2 separate regions of the Homo sapiens genome follow, and region 1 is linked to region 2. The links are contacts of gene promoters, found by promoter capture Hi-C in blood cells and fetal thymus (Javierre and others, 2016). All regions are on one chromosome and are shown on one strand. The core of a region is centred on a gene start or on the middle of the fragment in contact, and the rest is flanking DNA. Distances in the headings are between cores, read along the strand shown. Region 1 overlaps SEMA3E (semaphorin 3E). Region 2 holds the start of SEMA3E (semaphorin 3E).

What was found. Contacts are between HindIII fragments. The CHiCAGO score rates a contact against its expected background, and 5 or more counts as called.
Region 1: a fragment that was not itself captured here is called in contact with the fragment with the promoter of SEMA3E in region 2 in 1 of 17 cell types (megakaryocytes); the score reaches 5.8 in megakaryocytes.

The regions. Positions count from the first base shown.
Region 1 is chr7:83,384,297-83,388,276 of GRCh38, reverse strand. SEMA3E (semaphorin 3E) reads left to right here. Exons shown (of 17, transcript NM_012431.3): 15 at 1,227-1,294; 16 at 2,844-2,983. Among named protein-coding and RNA genes, the nearest start is that of PCLO, 220 kb to the right of the region's middle. The HindIII fragment of the contact is 578 bases long and covers 1,755-2,332 here.
Region 2 is chr7:83,647,701-83,651,466 of GRCh38, reverse strand. It overlaps SEMA3E (semaphorin 3E), which reads left to right and starts at 2,328. Exons shown (of 17, transcript NM_012431.3): 1 at 2,328-3,039. The coding sequence starts at 2,925. The HindIII fragment of the contact is 2,466 bases long and covers 1,606-3,766 here.

The sequences.
Region 1 (3,980 bases), core at 794-3,293, 260 kb after region 2:
AGTGCAGTGGTGCAATCTTGGCTCACTGGAACCTTCACCTCCCGGTTTCAGGCGATTCTCCTGTCTCAGTCTCCTGAGTAGCTGGGACTACAGGCGCACACCACCACGCCCGACTAATTTTTGTATTTTTAGTAGACACGGGGTTTCACCATGTTGGTCAGGCTGGTCTCGAACTCCTGAGCTCATGATCCACCCGTCTTGGCCTCCCAAAGTGCTAGGATTACAGGCGTGAGCCACCATGCCCGGCTAATGTTTTTATATATATTCAAAACATTATATTATATACATAATATATATATTCTTGAATTACATATACATATAATATTTTATATATTCGAAACATATGTATATTACATATATTCTGGAATTTTATATATATAATGTTATATATATATAAACATATATATAATGTTATATATATATAAACATATATATAACGTTATATATATATAAACATATATATTCTGGAATTTTTCCGCAGATACAGAATATTGTATTTTTTTCAGTTATATATCTAAACAATCTATGAAATTAAAACAATACTAGAAATGACTCTAATTATACGAGGCAGATTGAGGGGGAAAATACTAATATTTCTTGAGTCCCACTAGATGCACAAAATTCTGCTAAACATGAAAAACACACTATCACATTGAATAGAGGCAATGTTATATCTGAATAAAAGTAAGCTGACTACAGTATATTATTAGTTTATGTCTTATTGTTAGAAATTCTATTTGTACTAATTGATTATAATGGCTATAGAACAAACTATTTGGATTTTAACACCTTTTTCATTTGCACTTTATTATATATGGGAGTTTTATACTCAAAATAACTGTTTTGTACTCAATAAATACTTTACTTCAAATCCCATTGTCTTTATCTGCTCAAATACCTTACCATTCAAGACATTCTCAAACTAGAAGATTTCTTGTTGAACTAAATTTTTAACAAAAAGTAAAGAGAAATACATTCCATTGTTGTTTGAGTTTCCAGAATTCAACATTATGTAAATAAAGAACAGGGTAACATAGATCTTAGCTACTGAAGAACATATAATGGAAATATGAAAAACTATGAAACTTGGATTTTATTCTTTTTTCATATGAATGATCATTTTTTTCAGTAGCAGAATACTACTTGTATATGAAATGCAATTGGCTGCATTTTAAAGTCTGGAAAATTGAAAAAATGAACATCTAAATGCATTTACTTTCTTTCAGGCGTTTCCGGAGACAAGATGTTCGACATGGAAATGCAGCTCAGCAGTGCTTTGGACAACAGTTTGTTGGTAATCCATAGAAAATCAGTTGTTCTGGGTTACTCAGAGAATACATTGAACATAAACTACAAACTTCTTAAAAAGAGTCCTTTTTTTCTTTGTGATTCATGTATACTAGAACAATGTAATAAGTATTCTTTTTCTCTGACATGTAGTTAAAATTTTGAAAATTTGACTAATTTTTACCTGATTAGGAAAATAAGTTTTATGTGCTACCACCAAGCTTTATTATTAAACTAATTATTAAAACAAAGAAACCCTAGAACAAGAATGCTGCATACTTTAGGTGGTTGATGCCACAGTGACTCTTATGACTTACCTCTTTATCTCATACTGGGGACTATCTTCACCATGTTACGTACCTTCTGGTGATTTTATCAACTGGTATTACTTCTATCAAGTCATCTCCTAAGCTTTGGGATAGATAAAGTGAAAAAGCTTTTACTCTTTTATCTAAGTTGACCAAGCTTAGGGCTGGGGTTGGTGGTTCAATAAAGGTGATAGGGTGGTGGTAACTGATGGGTTAGGAATGGAGGAAATCTCATCTTTAGGCAAAAGTAAGGAATATAAGAAAGAACTTCTCTGTTAACTCCTGACTCTTTCTATTATGGTAGTGACTGTTGAATAGGCTGTATTTAGTGTCACTGAGCTCACTAGGAAGTAATAATAAGAAGGGACACCATAAATGAGAAACCAGCGGTGGCTATACGCAGAGCCAGAGACTGTGCTCCAGCATCAATTTGTTGGACCCCAGACTGACTCAGGATTCAGTGGAGGACTCAAGCCTCTGGGAATACTAGCAAGAGAAAAGTAGGACCTTCATCTTAGGGAAGTTTAGGGGTCAGTTCTGAAGGTGAGTAGGATTCAGGCATAGGAAAAATAAATCCAGAGGTCCAGTTATTGAATTTGTCTTAGTTTAAAATAAAGAGAGAGTAATCCTGCTTCCTTTTATTCCCTACTGCAGCTAAGTGTACTTGCCTGTGTGCAAATTTGAGTTCAAGTCCAGTAAGAGCCTTTCTGGTCCAAGACACAGATTATAATCAAGCTTTATTTCACAAAGTCCCTGGTTCAGTCTCATATTCTCTTCTCACTACAGCAGCCCAACACCCAGATAAATGCAATCCCTTGTCAAGATATAATCCACATTTGTGTTTATGTAGTGGCATTTTGCCTGCATTTCTGGTGTCTGCTTTTGTTTGTATCCACGAATTTTGTCCTGTGCTTTGGTGTTCCCTTTCTCTTCCCTCAATAGAGGTTGCAATAGACTTTCCATGAGTTTAACACTGATGCTTCTTACTGCCTTGACTATCCTGTCCCATCCTTTGGAACCAGACTCTCAGTTACCTACTTCTGTCCCACCCCATAGCCTGCTTGCTTGTTTCATGCCTAAATTTTGGTATGCCACTCTTTCTAAATAATTCCTTTAAATTACCTTTTGCAGAAATAAGCAATAAGTAATGAGTTAATCATGTTACTGCAGGGATCTAAATAATGTTTGAAAAATTTATTTACCTATAAAATCTAAGTCTCAAAGATGGCATTAATGTTCCTGTTGTAGGGGATGCTTTGGATAAGACTGAAGAACATCTGGCTTATGGCATAGAGAACAACAGTACTTTGCTGGAATGTACCCCACGATCTTTACAAGCGAAAGTTATCTGGTTTGTACAGAAAGGACGTGAGACAAGAAAAGAGGAGGTAATTCATAGCTGCATATTCAAAACATAGTATTTTGCATATAGTGTGTGATCAGTAAATAGATGATTTATTTGGATGCTGAAAAATGAAGCTAGCTGTTGTACTATGCATGCCTTATTTAATAAGTCAGTTTTATTTGTTATGTGTGATTTATATACACACAATAATTTAAATATATATACATATAGATTTTATATACATATACTATATAAATATATATATGCTATACACATACATAGAAATCATTAATTTGGATCTTGGAAGTAAGAATTTTTTAAAGAGGTACTTATAACTCATGATTTTATGGTCATGTTGTCAAAATGATAGTCTTAAATCATGACTCCCAAGGCAGTGTTGTAGAGAAATAGCAAAACTTAATTATCATTAACACATATGTCTTAGACATATGAATAATAACAGAATTAAAATAACAACACAGCTACAACATTAAGCTCATTGTAGAAGAAAATTTTTCAATTATATATGAGACATTGACACAAGGGTTCTTGACCGCTGGGAACAAAGGAAAGACCCCGCTCTTTCATCATCTAAATGATGGGAGAGGAATGACTTGGATGCTTGTAGAGATGGAAGAATAGGCAGCTTTAAAGCACATGTGTAGAATAGGAGGCAGTTACTGGATAAAAGAATGTGAGTCAAGGGCTGTCTATAGAAAGAGTCCAGGGCATAAAGAGGTCCAGGGCATAAAGCAGTTAGGTAAGGCAGATCATGGTGATGTAGGCTTTGAACTCAGTTTCACAAAAGTGGAATTACAAAGATAGCAAGTAGAAAAAAAAATGGATATTTTAGAAGGAGAAATAATATTGAATATTAAATGATGAATATTGAAAAAATTATCCTTGGTAAAGAAAAGGTTGCAAGTTGAATAATGAAAATAAGCTCTAGAGACCTGTCTCTATTACAGAGAAGAGGTAATAGGTGCATTTTGGATAGAGAGTGAATCAATGGAAGGCTTCACCTCGTTTTGGCACTGCAG
Region 2 (3,766 bases), core at 1,079-3,578:
GATTTTGGAATAAAACCCTTGACCTGGCAATCAATTCCTTTCTAATTGGCATTTATCTTCTCCCCTGGTTTTCCTTGTTGTCTGATATTGTTCAAACTGCTAGCCTGGATCCTCTCAAATCAAATACAGTAACATCACCTGATATTGTTGGTAACTCCAAAGTTTTTCAGTCCACTAAAGCTCTTCCCTTACTGTTGGTGGTGAGTCAGTTGTTGTTATTGTTTTTAATTTTCTATTTCCATGTTTCCCAAGAGTATCTAGAAATGGCTCCCAAGGATTCAGATTTTGATGTTGTGATTTGTCTATAGTATTATTGATTTGTGTGTAATTATGAATAGAAGCCTCTTTTATTCTCAAAAAAAGTCTTGTTTAGATGATGAGCTATTTGATGACTCTACTTCTGAGGATTCTTCTTGTTTTATTTTATGATGTAAGTGACTAATTTGGTCCCAAAGACTCTTTATTCCATTGCTAATGCCACATAGGGGAAACTGAGACTATAGATAGTTTTCTTAACAGTCATTTTTTGGCATCATCTATATATTTTCTATAGGATAAAGATAAAGGTAAAAGGACATAAAGAGTAGTTAAAAGAAATAAGTAAGGACATTGACAACTGGCAGATAAGCCAAAGCACATTTTGAGGAATCTAAACAACCCATTATTCTGGCATTTACTTCTAAATTGCTCCAACTTAATCTGAAGGATGAGATGTAAAACCAAAGACAGATCTTGGCATTCATAACATATATTCTCTTGTCAACACTTTAGAGGTGCATATTTTGTGTACTAATGAAATGATTGTAATGTCTCACATTGTCTCAGTTCTATAGTAGAGTTAGGACAGGCACTATGCAATCTTAAGTAGAATTTCAGCTATGTGAGAGTAGCCATGAATTTGCAATAAAAGGTGTAGGCACCACATTTACTTTTCCTATAATCCTACTATTAGATAACACATATAAGAGCTGCTATTTATTTTGTCATTTGTTTCCATCCTAGAAGAAAGCAAAAGAGAATTTTGAAGGTACAATGTATCACATTTAGAGCAACCTTTAGGTCTGTAGCTCATCAGACTGGCTTTTAAAATATGCAAGCATTCCAGGTTAAAAGTCTCTAAATAACTTCATGTCATTTTACTGTTAAATAATGTTTAGAGTTTGCTATCTTTTGTAGACCTTGGAAATCTAATTATTTATAATGTCCAGTGACATTTACATTTTGCTAAATATACTCTGCTTGTACAAGAACATCTCATGATTAGAAAAATGGGTAGAGAATGCCTGGCTGTACATATGCTTCTATATAATGCAAAAATATCAGGGTGACACATGTTATCTTTTTGTTATAGTTTCGTGATTTTAAAACATAATTCTCAAAAAGTTTTTAACTATTAGCATTTAAAATACAGAATAAGAAAAAGTTATCATAGTTGAGATCAGTGTTTACCATTTAACTCTCCACTATCAAATCAAATATCTATTCAAGTTTATTGGTATCTTAACATAATACCATTCATTTCCATGCCAACAGCTCCTGAGTGTTTGGCTTAGTTTTTGAGATTGATTGAAGGTAGATTGTAAAGTTGACCTATTGTGTTAAGCTTATTTACACAAACACAGTGCCTTGGAAAATCAACTCTGGAAGTCCATAGCAGTTGAATCCTAAGGTATTGCACATCCTAAGTTTTCTAATACCTGCTTTATAGAAATCCCTTGGGTGGTGAATCTCAACTTTGCCAGTTACCTTACCTGGGGGAAATTACTTCAACATTCCTAAATTTGAAGTAAAATTTAGGAATTGCTTTAGGACAAAGGATTTGCCTTTAATTTCATTTGACCAATTTGCTTAAGTAAATAATTTATCATTTCTATCAAATTTATGAGACAGTCACAGATGAACTTTTTTTTTTCAGGCTCTTGAAACACACTTTTCTTAAAAGAGTTTAAAAATAACATCCCTAAGATATAAGCAATAGAAAAAGACTTAATTTTGAAAAAAACCTTATGGCAACAGTGAAAAACAGAATTTGGATTCTGGATGGTTACAAATAGATTATTTTCAAAAGAAGTTGGATTTATTCAACTTAGGTCAATTTATCTTGGTAAGAATTTAAAAGCGCTTTCTGATGCCACATCCTTGTCTGTCACCTATTCTTAAATAATCAGTCTATGTCATCACCCCTCCCGAACTCCCCATTTCCCCCATCAAAATGTGGACTTCTCTCCTGCTGCTGAGTAACGTGGGGCTGGTTATGACTGGGAGGGAGGATGGGAGCGAGGCACGTGGACCAGAAATACTTCCTAGAAACAGCAAGTACGCTGCTCAACCCTGCCTGAACTTTCCTGTAAACAGCCACTGACAGACTGCATCCCTGCTGGGTGGATCCTGCGACTCCTAGAGGGAATGGCACTTCTTGTTTTTAATTAGCAAGGTGAAAGGTGAATTAAAACTAGCAGTTTGGCAAGTCAGTGCAAGAGGCTGACTTCTGAGAGGCTTCCAGGAGCCCGAAGAGAGGACCTCCACGGGAGAAGGGAGTGCGTGTGCTCGGTTTTGTTTTTTTCTCTCTTTTTTTTTTTTTTTTCTGAATGAACAGCTTTGCCCAAGTGACTGAAAAATACAGCTTCTTCCTGAATCTACCGGCGTAGTTGCTGAAGAGCGCTCTAGACAGGACATGGCTCTGAAGACTCACTCTTTGGAATGTCCTCTTGCTCCCGGCTTATAAACAACTGTCCCGAGGAAAGAAAGGTTTTACATAGCCAAATACAGCCTGACAAATGGCACTTCGGAACTGTGCTTTCTGATGACAACGCGTTCGATTTCTGACAAAGCCTCTCGCACGCTGCCCCTGGAGGGAAGTCCTAAGTAAAACTCAGACCCTCCTTAAAGTGAGGAGCGAGGGCTTGGACGGTGAACACGGCAGCATGGCATCCGCGGGGCACATTATCACCTTGCTCCTGTGGGGTTACTTACTGGAGCTTTGGACAGGAGGTCATACAGCTGATACTACCCACCCCCGGTTACGCCTGTCACATAAAGGTAGGTTACCTTTCCAGATCCTTTTGTTTAAAAAAAAAAAAAAAGAAAAAGAAAAAAGAAAAAAAAAGTCGTTTAACATTAACATAGGCTTATGGTCTTCAAAGACCTTTAAAATGCACCTGAAAAATTTATTGCAAAACTGACCTAAAATTCTAAGTACCTCTGATTAATGTGTCATACTCACCTCATCTGAAAACAGTGCAAAATCACATGTCAACTTAGAGATGTTATTTTTGTCTGTAAACATTGGATTTTATCAATAAGGAGTTCACTCACTAGCCCGCGGAACACAGGAAGGGAGGAAGCAGGTTGAAAATAGCCTTGAGAGGCTGAATCCACCAAGTTAACAGTAGATATTTAAATATCAGTTTATGCATATGAGAAACAAGGATGCTGGGAAAGGGCTATAGAAATAGGGGTGCAATTTGTTCTTTTTGTTTTTGTTTTGTTTTGTTTCCATAATGGAGGTAAGAGGAGAAAATAAAAATCCCGAGGAGAAAAATGATGCCCTACCCATAACTGTCATCATCATGTAATTAAAATGATTAACAACTAATATAAATTAGTTTTCCAGTTGAATTGATTATTAGAATTTTTTCATGTGTGGCAAAGGAAAATAGTTTATGACAATGCTTGTAAAATGGCTAATATGGATTAAAGTATTAGTATTCACTAGCATTTGTAGTGTAAATTTATATTGCCTTAATGAAGATCTAACAGCAAATGT